Linked DNA regions of Homo sapiens: region 1 is linked to region 2. Evidence: promoter capture Hi-C in human tissues and cell types (Jung and others, 2019). All regions are on one chromosome and are shown on one strand. The core of a region is centred on a gene start or on the middle of the fragment in contact, and the rest is flanking DNA. Distances in the headings are between cores, read along the strand shown. Region 1 overlaps ABCG1 (ATP binding cassette subfamily G member 1). Region 2 holds the start of WDR4 (WDR4 tRNA N7-guanosine methyltransferase non-catalytic subunit).

What was found. The method cuts DNA at HindIII sites, captures the fragments that hold promoters and counts their contacts. A contact is called where the count stands out against the background at its distance.
Region 1: a contact is called between a fragment that was not itself captured here and the fragment with the promoter of WDR4 in region 2, in 1 of the 25 tissues and cell types used here (spleen).

The regions. Positions count from the first base shown.
Region 1 is chr21:42,240,178-42,247,319 of GRCh38, forward strand. The region is part of intron 2 of ABCG1 (ATP binding cassette subfamily G member 1); the gene reads left to right. Among named protein-coding and RNA genes, the nearest start is that of ABCG1, 25 kb to the left of the region's middle. The HindIII fragment of the contact is 3,059 bases long and covers 1,399-4,457 here.
Region 2 is chr21:42,878,238-42,884,985 of GRCh38, forward strand. It overlaps WDR4 (WDR4 tRNA N7-guanosine methyltransferase non-catalytic subunit), which reads right to left and starts at 1,302. Exons shown (of 11, transcript NM_018669.6): 1 at 1,170-1,302. The coding sequence starts at 1,258. It overlaps LOC105372817 (a long non-coding RNA gene), which reads left to right and starts at 1,475. Exons shown (of 4, transcript XR_937765.3): 1 at 1,475-1,518; 2 at 5,369-5,558. RefSeq lists enhancers at 1-327, 328-1,292, 945-994, 1,025-1,134, 1,205-1,554. The HindIII fragment of the contact is 11,595 bases long and covers 1-6,748 here.

The sequences.
Region 1 (7,142 bases), core at 1,678-4,177, 640 kb before region 2:
CCACGCTGGGTCTCCAACGGCCACACGAGGCACTGCTTCCATGTTATCAGTGAGGAAACTGTGGCCTGGAGACAGGTGGGCGATGAGTTCAAGTTCCTGCTGCCAACAGGTGGACCCCAGGACCAAGCCTAGCCCAGTTGACCCCTGGCTCCTCCTGTTTGCTCTTTGAGATCATATGAAACAGCCAGTGACTGCCTAGGGCCATGGCCCTTTTCAGTGAACTTGAAACATTAAAATGTTTACTGCCTTCACACTTATGGCTTAAAAAGTTGTTTGGTTTGTGTTTTCTTTGAGATGGAGTCTCGCTTTGTCACCCAGTCTGGAGTGCAGTAGCGCAATCTCAGCTCACTGCAACCTCCGCCTCACAGATTCAAGTGATTCTTCTGCCTCAGCCTCCCACGTAGCTGGGATTACAGGCGCCCATCACACCCGGCTAATTTTTGTGTTTTTAGTAGAGATGGGGTTTCGCCATGTTGGCCAGGCCGGTCTCGAACTGCTGACCTCAGGTGATCCACCCGCCTTGGCCTCCCAAAATGCTGGGATTACAGGCGTGAGCCACCGCACCCAGCCAGAAAGTTAATTTTAATGAGAATGAAGCCGCATCATTGAAAAGTCTGATGAGCTTGGGAGTTGTCTAATGGTGGAGGCTGCCAGCCAGGTCTCATGACCTGGACCAGATTAAGCCCTACTGTCCATCTTCAGGGAGAGTAAACAGCGTGACCAGCACGGGCCACGCTTGCTCACACCCACCAGATGTGCGTTCCCGCACCACCCAGGGGACCGAGGGCACAGGTGGGGAGTTAGGAGGGAATTCAGGGCATGGGCAGACCCTCTGAAGGAATCCAGGAGGCTTGGGATCTGGAATGGACACTCTGGGCTGACAGTCAACAGTCCTGGTGAATAGCATGTTGGTCTCTGGGACTCTTATCCTTCTGACTTTCACAGACACGTAGTGAGAGCACTGGCCACGTTCAGACGTGACTGCCTGTCAGGATTCTGACGGAGGTGACCCTGGCTGGGCCACCAGCTTTCAGCATCCATTTATCGTAAAAGCCAAGTGCACAGTGGAGATGCTTTTCTCCCCACAACATCCGTGAGCTCATCATAAACAGAAACGGGGAAATTCATCAGAGTGTGTTTCTGTGAGGAGTTAAAAAATCCACAGGGCAGTAATCCCAGCACTTTGGGAGGCTGAGGCGGGTGAATTACTTGAGGTCAGGAGTTTGAGACTAGCCTGGCCAACATGGTGAAACCCCATCTCTACTAAAAATACAAAAATTAGCTGGGCATGATGGTACACGCCTGTAGTCCCAGCTACTCAGGAGGCCGAGGCACAAGAATCACTTGAACCCGAGAGGCAGAGGTTGCAGTGAGCTGAGATCGCACCACTGCACTCCAGCCTGAGTGACAGAGTGAGACCCTGTCTCAAAAAAAAAAAATAACAAAAAAAAAACAAAACCCAAAATCCCTAAGGTGTTTATAATTTTATACTGTTTCCTAAGGGATTCTCTTGCATTAAAAATGCCCTGCTGGGTGCAGTAGCTCACACCTGTAATTCCAGCACCTTGTGGGGCTGAGGTGGGAGGATTGCTTGAGAGCAGGAGGTCGAGACCAGCCTGGGCATCAGAGACCCTATCTCTATTAAAAAAAAAAAAAAGCCAGGCATGGGGCATGCCTGTGGCCCCAGTTACTTGGGAGGCTGAGGTGGGAGGATCACTTGAGGCCAGGAGGTTGAGGCTGCAGTGAGTCATTATCACACCACTGCACTCCAGCCTGGACAACAGAGCAAGACCCTGTCTCAAAAAAAAAAAAAAAAAAAGAACTCCCCATGGTGTTTTTGGTTACTTGTTTTACAAATATGCCTGCCATTGAAAGCACAAAACAGTGAAATCCCTTTCTAAAGTATATGGGGCCAGCCACAAAGTAGACTCCAGTACATTTTATTTTAAGCAAAGTTACAAAGCACATGCAGTTCTTACTACTGTATTTTGATTTTCTGAGTTTCCTTTAGGAAATATTGGCTTTTTAAAAAGACTATACAATGGGCCTGGCACAGTGGCTCAGGCCTATAACCCCAGTGCTTTGGGAGGCCAAGGCAGGAGGACTGCTTGTGCCCAGGAGTCCAAGGCCAGCCTCAGCAACATAGCGAGACGCTGTCTCTACAGAAAATAAGATGAGCAGAGCATAGTAGTGTGCACCTGTAGTCCCAGCTACTGAGGAGGCTGAGCGGGGAGGGTTGCTTGAGGCTAGGAGTTCAAGGCTGCAGTAAGCTATGATAGCACTGCTGCATACTCCAGCCTGGGTGACAGCAGAGACCCTGTCCCTAAAAACAAAACAACACAAAAACTCAAACTGCACAATGAGAGAGGAGGAGGGAGCTGTATTATAGATGTGTGGTACCTGGAACCAAGTGGTGACGCTGAGGAGGGCGGAAGGAGCATGATGAGAGGTGGCTGGGTGACTTGGCTGCTGGAGAACGCTGGCCATTAGGGCACATTCATTCTGTTCCGGCTCTTGTGTTATTTCACACTTTCCACATCCCAGTCCTTTAGAGCCGACCATGAACCGGGGCAGTGAACCATATCGTTGTTTGTTGTGTTTTTTGGTTTTTGTGACTTCAGAGGCTGAAGTGCAATGAGGCAATCAAGCGAGCTCCACCATGGCCCTGAGGGCTTGTGAAAATGCAGGTGGCTGGGCTGCACCCCCGGGGGTCTGAGTGAGCAGGTTTGGGGCAGGCAGGGTTCCGTGTCTGATAAGTATGGGGCGATGCTGCTGTTGCTGGTCCAGGGATCCCACTTTGAGAACTGCTGAATTAGAGTAAAGAGGAGTTGATGGCCATGTGGGAGCCACCCTGAGCCCTGGGAAAACTGGAGCAGGAGGTGGCATCACCCACACTTGCACCACAGGCAGGAGTGAGGGCCCTGCTCTCCCATGGTCAGGCAGCCTCAGCATCTCACCACTCCCTGGCCTTCAAAGTCAGCTTTCCTTGTGAACCTGGGTGGTCAGAGATGCAGACAGCAGGGCCAGGTGGTGTCTCACGAGTCGCACTATGAATGTGGGGAGCCCGTCGGCCCCTCCCTCTGCAGGGAGGAGAGTTAAAGCTCATGTCCTCCAGGGTACCTTCCTCGGGGGTGGTGGACTGCTGCACGCCAGGGAACAGGGCAGAAGTGCCTGGATTCAGCAATTTATATTATTATTTAAGAGAGAGCAGATTTTATTTTTATCTTAATCTGTTTCACAGAACCATATTTTAATACCGTGTGTGTGCGCGTGTGTGTGTGTGTGTGTGTGTGTGTGTGTGTGTGTGTGTGTGCGCTGGTTTATAATATCACCTGGGCGGGATAAAGAAGATTAGGTTCCTTTCTGCTTATTTGTAAAACCTGTTCAAGCTGCAGTAAGATTGTCATGATCTCCATCATCATCTGATTTATCCCCCAGCCAGTTCCTCTGTAAAATCTGGAAAGACAGTAGTTGCTGAGGGGCTGCAACAGAGGATTGGCGTGAGAGTGGAGAGGTTTTTGCAGGATTCCCGGCGCCCTGTCCAGACAGCGGTGGTGGAGAGAAGCAAAGAGAAGTGCAGTTTCTATCTAAACTAGTAATTTTCTTTCCTCTTCTGTAAGCCCTCTTTATCTTTGGCTTTTTTTTTTTTTTTTTTTTTTGAGACGGAGTCTCACTCTGTCGCCCAGGCTGGAGTGCAGTGGTGCGATCTCGGCTCACTGCAAGCTCCGCCTCCCGGGTTCACGCCATTCTCCTGCCTCAGCCTCCCGAATAGCTGGGACTACAGGCGCCCGCCACCACGCCCGGCTAATTTTTTGTATTTTTTAGTAAAGACGGGGTTTCACCATGTTAACCAGGATGGTCTCAATCTCCTGACCTCGTGATCCGCCCATCTCGGCCTCCCAAAGTGCTGGGATTACAGGCGTGAGCCCCCACGCCCGGCCTATCTTTGGCTTTAAAAAAATGTTTTAAATTGCTCTTTTCTTGCTAAAACATCACTGTAAGTGATAAAATTATTTGCAGAGGCTGGAACATGAGGTTAGCTGGGGGTGGAGAGGGCATCCTAGGAGTGGACATGGGAGCTCACAGGGATTCAGGAGGGCATCCAGACCCTGAACTTCCTTCGTCCCCTCCCAGTGCAAGGTTCTGACAAGAGCCTGCCTGAGCCCTTCTCTCAGTATTTAGTAACACTCGATCCTAACAGAAGAAGGTCGGCCATTTCCACCGTCCTCTGTGCCAGCTCTCAGGACCAGATTAGAAACACAGTTAACACAGCCATTGCCTTGCCAATAAATTGATAAAGCTAAAAGACTTCAAAAGCTTCTCTTCTGCACTGCATTTCCTAAAGTCTAATTTACAGTCTTGTCTTACTTTGCAATTCCCACTCTTTTTTTTGGTGAAGAAATTGAGCTTTTCCTCATCTAAAATCACGGCAGATTTTGAGTTGCAAGGATCACAATTAGTGAATTTTAAAAATTATACCTGGAACAGGCACATGGCAGTGGTCGTCTGAGAATGAGCTGGGAGGTGTGAAACCTTCTTGCCACTGACACTCAAGGACAGGGCTGTTTACATGACATCCATTTCCAAGCCACAGAAAGCTTGGGAACACCCACTTAGAGCTGAGAGTGACCTTCCCTATGGGAGAGGCACACTTACAAAGGGAACGACCGTAGGCAGGTGAAATCCCCACCTTGCTGTTGGAACCCGAGCTTCAGAGAGGGCTGTTGACTTGGCTGGAGCCATCCGTGGAAGGGGTGCATTGAAACCACAGGTGAGAACTCCATGTGGGAATCCACCACCCTCTGAGAACGACCCTCAGGAAGAGGACCTCCTTCCCCAGTCATGTCCCAGCTCTGCCCCCACGCGCTCCACGAGCTCAGGCCTGCAGTGGGAGCTGAGCGTCTGGAGTGAGGAGTGGTGTTTGCCAGACCTTGTGTTCCCTGGGCTGCCTGGAGGGGCTCCTCCAGTGAATCTAGACACCCCACACTTTGTACCAGGGAGTGGAAAGGGTGATATGAACTTCTGCATCCGAGGACTTCTGAAAAGCCACAGATGGAAGAACCAAAGAAAACAGGATTTACTTAGAAGGTTGAGCCTCTCCACTGGCTCGCATATAGGTCTAACTTACAAGGAACCTGTTGGGTTGTGGTTTTTGTAGTTATAAAAATTATTAAGGAACCAGAAAATTGCATTCTTCTCCAATTGGTTTTAGGCATTCAGTCCAGATACAAGGATTATGAAACTTAAAAAGCAGCATCTTAAGCCCGGCTTAACCCCAAACAACATCTTAACCCCAGTGAAGTGTTCTTGAAGGGTGGGTGCGGCCACACATCCTGCAATCCAGTGCAGACCAGATGGCCTCCCTGGCCAACCACGGGGACAGGAAGAAGAAGGACAGAGGACACAGGAGAGACAGGACTGAGCTGGGTTCCCATGTGGTGTGAGGGAGGCAGGGAATGGCCCAGAAGGCTGGATCTGCAAACAGGAGTCGCATCAGAGACAGAGAAGAGAGCACAGCTCAAGGCTGAGATAAGACCAGGAGAACTGGGGCTGTATTTCCTTATCTATTCCTGAGATCCATGCTTTCTGAAAATCATCTGCACATCTAAGCATCTTGGCACAACTCCGATGAGGAGGGGATGGGGCACCAGGCAGCAGACTCTGATGAGGAGGGGAGGGGGCACCAGGCAGCAGACTCTGATGAGGAGGAGACAGGGCACCAGGCAGCAGAAAGTGCTGACTCAGCAGCACAAGACCACATGGCCGGCTTCCCTTCTTCCTCGGAATGGCCTGGAATTCGATCAAGAACAGCAGCCCCAGGAGCATCCTAGAGAGGTGGGGGCAGGCGGGGGACATGGTGAGGGAGGGAGTGGCAACTCTGGGCAGGTGGCAAGAGCCAGCTGATGAGTACAGGGAGGGAGTTCCCTTCTCCACCCATCCACACTGACATCTGGGGAACTCATTTAAGCTACAGATGCCAGCTTTTGGATTTGCAGAACGGTGCAGTGACTGAATTCGCCATCCAAACACTTAGAAGAATAAATGCACCAGTTTCTACAGAGGCTGTAGATATAAAGCCATTTCTCAAGAGGAATGATAGTTGTCACTGGATATAGGATAGCTTTGAAAAGGAAAGATTATGGAGATATTTGTCACCTCTTTAAGATACTGGCAAAACAATAAAGCTGTTCTAATAATTTACCTGTTAATAAATATTTTCATAAAATAATCTCAGTCCATGTGCAAAAATAATAAACAATGCTGCTTTGCTCTGATGGCTAAAAGAAAGAGATTCTCAGTTCCAGCTTTTCCTCACTGACGTAAAGGGATGGGATATCATTTCATGAGCTTTTAAGTTTCTTCATCATTTTTCCTTTCAGAAAGTAACAAATGTAATTTCAAGATACAATGGCGTATGTGTATATATATGAATATGTATGTATTGATGCTTCTATACATAAAGACACATGTATGATTATATTTTAATGAGAGCACTTTTTTTAAGTCAGGAAAAGACCTTAAAGATTCATATAGTCCACGCTCCACATTTCATAGATTAGAAACCCAAGGCGCAGGCTGAGATTTTTAGTTTAAAATAAACCAGTTTTTGAGATGAAATTCTGGTACTGCCACATCTAAATTTGAATCTTATATGCCTGTATTTATTTGTTCTGAGCAAGAAGGTTTGATTCCATCATTAATTAAAAAGTCTCAGGCAACCAGACTGGGATAAGTTTTTAAAAGAAAAAAAAATCCTACAATTAAAATGAAGCCACAAGACTTAGAATTTGACCGTGATTTTAAAACTATTCTAAAGAAACTTTGTTTTACTTCAAGTTAGACGTGACTGTCTAAGGTAAGGTATATGAACTATTATAAACTTCCCAGAAACAATTTCTAGCTGGTCCTCTTTCTGTTTCTTGGTGAGTTTGTGTCTTTCTCTGAGTAATTTTCAGGATAAAAATATTTGAAATTCTTTTTTCTATTTTCATTATGGGGAAAAAGCATCTTGTCTTCATTCAACAAACTTTTATTATCTGTTATAAGCAAAGTATTTTTGCTCAGTCTTGGGGAGGAAAAAGTAAAGATAGCATGTCCCTCAATGAGTTTATAATTGATAGGGACACAAGGAGCTCTCACTA
Region 2 (6,748 bases), core at 52-2,551:
CCCATCCTCACCCCCTGGCACGTATCTTGTACATATTTATAGCCTTTAAAGCGAGTGCACCAAAAAACTTTCCATATGGAACCGTGGACTTGTCTTCCAAGTCAGAAACTCCACCAGCCACTAGAATTTCCTCAAAATGCAAAGACTGAAGGTAAGCAAATCATGTCTAATATATCCACAGCTCACTCTGGCAGATATTAGACCGTGAGTCTCTAAAACAAAATCATCTGGGATATGTGACGGGTTTCTGAGTACAATTTTTGTGAGACCTAACTTAACATCGAATTGGCTTTCTAAAACCAAACGAACAAAAAATATACAGTATATCTGACAGACACGTCGTCCGTTTCAAATATGAAATCACAAATAACCTGGGAAAGGAAACGAGGGGCTGAAACTGACAGCACTACTAATTGCTCCGAGAGTCCTGAGTTAGGACTGTTCCATCAACAAACATTTACTAAGTTAAAAATCCCCTGCGTCGTCCTAGCACTGGCGATACACTAAGGAAGGAGAATAAAATTACGGAAAGCAAAACCCGAGCCGTGCGAAGGGCCACTAGGGAGGTGCGCACTGCGAGCTCCACGTGCACCCTTGGGTTGGGTAAGTGTCGGAGATGACTTGGAGCCCTAAGGAGCAATTAAGGCCAGGTGAGTGGATGCAGGCCGGGAAGAGGGAACAGACAACCCTGCAAAAAGAGGGAGCGCGCTTGGAGGTCAGTGAGCTCGCAGTGAGTAAGCCCCTCCCTTCTCACCAGGGAGACCCGAGACCCGCTTCTTCCCAGTTCTGCAGAGCGTGTTCGGCCGGGCCTTGCTGACTGGTCAGCGTCGCCCCACGTGCTCTACCTACCCGGTCCCCGCCGGCGCCGCGGAGACCGGAAGCGACCCGGCGGCGCTAACCGGGCAAGAACACCGCAGACCAGCCATCTAGTGCAAGGAGCGCGCCGGAGCCGGGGAGCGGACGCCGAGAGCGGACGGCGAAAGCGGACCCTCCAGGCGCAGAGACGCGGCCAGGCCGAGACTGCGGCGGAGGACTCGTGGGCTGGAGCGGAGTTCCCCGGGGTCACCCCAGAGTGGGTGCGACCAGGCGGTGCGGGAGAAGCGGGGTCGCCAGGACCCGACGCGCGCCCGCAGCCTGGTCTCCCTGTTCCAAGACCAAGGCCCCCTCACCTGCTTGCTATGGAGGTGGCCAGGAATCGGCTGCCGCCCCGCACCACCAACGTCTGCCCGCACAACGCCAGTCCCACAGAGCCCGCCATGTACCCGCCCGCCTCACCGCCATACACATGTGCCAGCCCAGAGCCTCTTCCTGTCCGCACCGGTCGGTGACGCCAGGCGCAGACGCCGAGAGATGACGTATACCCCACGTACCGCGCATGCTCAAGGACGAGCCTGCCTTGAGCATGCGTGAAAGGTGCTGTGACCGCCCTCCGGGTTGTGGCTGGTGGCCTTCGGTGTTTCGGGTTTGGCAGTTCACTCACCAAGGTGATCTGATGGAGTGCACTTCGCACGATTCCAAGTACTTGCCTAATGTTCATCCTTTCCTCTAGACGGGGTAGGGCTGGTTCTGGATCTTTTTCCGCGGTAGCTGGAGAGACGTAGGACCTGATGATGGCTACTAGATGCCTGGTAAATGATCCTTCAAGAAGTGAATGAACCGGGGGCCGTGGCTCACATGAAGTCAGCAGTTCGAGAGCAGCCTGACCAATATGGTGAAACCCCGTTTCTACTAAAAGTACAAAAATTTGTTGGGCGTGGTGGCGTGCGACTGTAGCCCCAACTACTTGGGAGGCTGAGACAGAAGAATTGCCTGAACCCGGGAGGCGGAGGTTGCAGTGAGTCGAGATCGCCCCCGCTGCACTCCAGCCAGGGCGACAGAGCGAGACTCTCTCTCAAAAAAAAAAAAAATGTCCAAGATGTGGTCATGGGTGAGGGTGTCTCGGGTGGCGTCAAGTCTGAGGTCGCTAGAAGTAAGCCTACTGAATCTTTGCACTTAGACAAGCCACAGATGCCTTAAAATCTCCGAACTGTAGTGATATTTTCAACCCAAACTATGGTTAGTTTCCAGTGTTCATCCCAAGATCCCCAAAAGCCTCTTACAATCCCAGCATCAGGCACAAAATCTAGGATCTCACGGTCTGTTTTAGATTGGCTTGTCCGGTGCAGCTCCTCTTGATCCAGAGACTTACAAACTAAAAAGATTAATTTTCTCTCCCGTGCACGCAATATATGATGGTGAGCCGGGACCAGATAACCACAATAAATACTTGCATGTGAAAATGAGAAGAGGAGGAGACACAGTAATCACTGGTCCAAAGCAATTCTGAAATCCTACTGGAAGATGTTTTCAGGCCCTACAAGAATAAGAAGTCTTAACCAGGCCCGAGTTCTGCTTCCTGGGAGTATCTCCCCAGGCTGTATCTCAGCACAGCTCTTGCCTCTGCCCTCTTGGGTGTCCCTCCTTTTCCAGCACCTTCTTGGCCATGTTGAAGAATGTGCCCTTTGAGAAACTTTCTCAACCTCCTTCCTGTCATTAGCAAATTGTGAGCCCACAGACCTTTTTTCACTCTAAACTGTTCTGTCCACATTTTGGCAGCTGGTGGTGCTTTGTTCACTACAAGTCCCTTAAAAGCTTTATGGGCTTCTCAAGAATCTGATTCAGGTGCTCTCCATGCCCAAGAAGCCACTCCCACTAGTCTTTTTTTTTTTTTTAGACGGAGTCTCGCTCTGTCGCCCAGGCTGAAGTGCAACCTCCACCTCCCGAGTTCACGCCATTCTCCTGCCTCAGCCTCCTGAGTAGCTGGGACTACAGGCGCCCGCCACCACGCCTGGCTAATTTTTTGTATTTTTCAGTGGAGACGGGGTTTCACCATGTTAGCCAGGATGTTCTGGATCTCCTGACCTTGTGATCCGCCTGCCTCGGCCTCCCAAAGTGCTGGGATTACAGGCGTGAGCCACCGCGCCCAGCCACTTGTTAACATTTAAATCATTGAGATCACCTTGACTTCAGCATTATTCTTAAGGCCATATTTTATTAGCGCCACTCTGAATTTGATCTTTGGCCCAGGTTATGACTTACTTTGAGAACTTGTTACCAACTATTGGGTCTAATAATACTTTCCCCAGCTTCAACCCAAAGTGTGCTCTAAATTCTGCTGGCCAGTTTGTTTGTTTGTTTGTTTTTAACCACACTCTTTTCTATAAGTGTCTCAACATATTCAAGCAAAAGAAACACAGGTTAATCTCAACATTATACTGATATGATCTTTTTCAAGTCCCAGAGTTCAGTAGTTGCCTTTTTCTCTGCCCATCTTACTGAAGGGCAACAATTTTACAAATCCTTCACCGTGACATAGAGTTGTTCACCATTTGTCCACCTCCCGTAGTTTTCCTCACCATTGTTCCAGTGTTCACTACCAGTTTCCCCACTGCTTTTCCAGACTTCTAGTCCAAAGCTAATGCCACATGTTACAGTAGCACCTACTGCTAGGTACAAATGTCTGTAGCATGCATATCTTCCTTGTAGTCCTAGATATAGATCAACAAGCTCATAAAAACTATGGCTTTCTTTTTTTCTTTTTTTTTGAGGCGGAGTTTCACTCTTGTTGCCCAGGCTGGAGTGCAATGGCGTGATCTCCGCTCACCAAAACCTCTGCCTCCCGGGTTCAAGCGATTCTGCATCAGCCTCCCAAGTAGCTGGAATTACAGGCATGTGCCACCGTGCCCAGCTAATTTTGTATTTTTAGTAGAGACGGGGTTTCACCATGTTGGCCAGGCTGGTCTCAAACTCCTGACCTCAATTGATTCTCCTACCTTGGCCTCCCAAAGTGCTGGGATTACAGGCGTGATCCATGATCCATGTTAGTCAGGCTGGTCTCAAACTCCTGACCTCAGGTGATCTGCCCGCCTCGGCCTCCCAAAGTGTTGGGATTACAGGCGTGAGCCACTGCACCCGGCCCAACTATGGCCATTTTTATAAATCATTGATTACATTAGCCTAGAGTGAGTGTGGGCTTTCTTTTTCAATTAAGAAACTTATGGATTGGCCGGGTGCAGTGGCTCACACCTGTAATCCCAACACTTTAGGAGGCCAAGGCGAGCAGATCACCTGAGGTCAGGAGTTTGAGACCAGCCTGGCCAACACGGTGAAACCCCATCTCTACTAAAAATACAAAAATTAGCTGGGCTTGGTGGCATGCACCTGTAATCCCAGCTACTCAGAAGGCTGAGGCAGGAGAATCACTAGAACCCAGGAGGTGGAGGTTACAGTGAGCCAAGATCACCCATTGCATTCCAGCCTGGGCAACAAGGGTGAAACTCCATCTCAGAAAAAAGAAAAAAAAAACTTATGGATTGTTGTGTTGTATTTCTAGTCCTGTCCTGAGCAAAAGGTATTAGGAACCTGAGAATCCTTCCATTAGCACAATAGAAAAATGGGCAAAAAGGCCAGGCACGGTGACTCACACCTGTAATCCCAGCACTTTGGGAGGCCAAGGTAGGAGAATCAATTGAGGTCAGAAGTTTGAGACCAGCCTGGCCAACATGGGGAAACCCCATCTCTACTAAAAATACAAAAATCAGGCTGGGCGCAGTGGCTAACGCCTGTAATCCCAGCACTTTGAGAGGCCAAGGCAGGTGGATCATCTGAGGTCAGGAGTTTGAGACCAGCCTGGCCAACATAGTGAAACCCCGTCTGTACTAAAAATACAAAAATTAGCCGGGCATGGTGGCGGACGCCTGTAGTCCCAGCTACTTGGGAGGCTGAGGCAGGACAACCGCTTGAACGTGGGAGGTGGAGGTTGCAATAAGCCGAGATCATGCCACTGCACTCCAGCCTGGGTGACGGAGCAAGACTCCGTCTCAAAAAAAAAAAAAAAAAAATAGAAAAATCAGCTGGGAGTGGTGGTGCGTGCCTGTAGTCCCAGATACTCAGGAGGCTGAGGTACGAGAATCACTTGAACCGAGGAGGTGGAGATTGCAGTGAGCCGAGATTGCGCCACTGCACTCCAACCCGAGTAACAGAGTGAGACTCTGTCTCAAAAAAAAAAAAAAAAAGAAAAATGGGCAAGAAGTTACCCTTTTTTTTTTTTTTTTTACAAACTGGCAAGACGACATAAGCATTGTCTTATGGTCCTTCAGTTAAAAAAAAAATTGTGTAAAAACAAAAATGGACAAAGACCCATTAATTTCATGGTGGTTGTAGTGGGTTGAAAGGTGGCCCCCTAAAATGTATGTCCACCCCTGGAAACTGGGGATGTGACCTTTTTTGGGGAAAGGGTCTTTTCTAATGTGATTAAGTTAAGGATTGCAAAATGAGAGCATCCTGGATTTGGGTGGACCCTAAATCGAATGTTATGTGTACTGAGAAGAGAAGGGAGAAGACAGAGGAGAATGCCAGATGAAGACAGAAACAGAGATTGAAGTTATGTGGCCATAATTCAAGGATTGCTGGCAACACCAGAAGCCAAGAGAAAGATGAGGAAGAATTCTCCCCTAGACCTTTCAGAAGGAGCGTGGCCCAGCCAACACCCTGACTTCAGACTTCTGGCCTCCAGAACTGTGAGAATAAATTCTTACTGTTGTAATCCACCTGATATGTGGTAATGTGTACATTTCAGTGGGTTTTAGTATATATACAGAATTGTGCATCCATCACCACAATTTTAGAACATTTTCATCACCCACAAAATAAATCTTAAACCCAGTAGCAGTCACTCCCCCTTTCACCCTCCCCATAAACCCCTGGTAACCATTAATCTACTTTGTTTTATGGATTTTGCTAGTCTGGACATTTCATATAATCTGGCTTCTGTCACTGAATATTAGGTTTCCAAGGTTCATGGATATTGTAGCATGTATCAGTACTTCACTGCTTTTCATGGCCGAATAATATTCCACTGAATGCATATATCACATATATCACATTTTGTTTATCTGCTCATTGGTTGATAGGCAGTTTGGGATTTCCCACCTTTTGGCTATAATGAATAATGGTGTTGTGAACATTCCACTGGGAATGGAATTGTTGAGTCATATGGTAACATTTAAACTTTTCAGGAACTGGCCAGGTGTGGTGGATTGAACCTGGGAGGTAGAGGTTGCAATGAGCTGAGATTGCGCCACTGCACTCCAGCCTGGGTGATGGATCACACCTGTAATCCCAGCACTTTGGGAGGCCGAGGTGGGTGGATCACAAGGTCAGGAGTTCGAAATCAGCCTGACCAACATTGTGAAACCCCACTTCTACTAAAAATACAAAAATTAGCTGGTCGTGGTGTTGCGTACCTGTAATCCCAGCTACTCAGGAGGCTGAGGCAGGAGAATCACTTGAACCCGGGAGGCAGAGGTTGCAGTGAGCCGAGATCACGCCATTGCACTCCAGCCTGGGCAACAGAGCCAGACTCCACCTCAAAAAAAAAAAAGTCCTTTTCAGGGACCGCCAAGCTGATTCACAAAGTGGCTACAGCACTTTATAGTCCCACCAGCACTACATTGTGGTTCCAGTTTCTCCACATCCTCACCATCACTTGTTATTATGTCTTTTTTGTTTGTTTTTTTCCGACAGAGTCTCACTGTGTCCCCCAGTCTGAAGTGCAATGGTGCAATCCAGCTCACTGCAACCTCCCTCTCTGAGCTTCAAGTGATTCTCCTGCCTCAGCCTCCCAAGTAGCTGGGATTATAGGCACATGCCACCACACCCAGCTAATTTTTGTATTTTTGATAGAGACGGGGTTTCACCATGTTGGCCA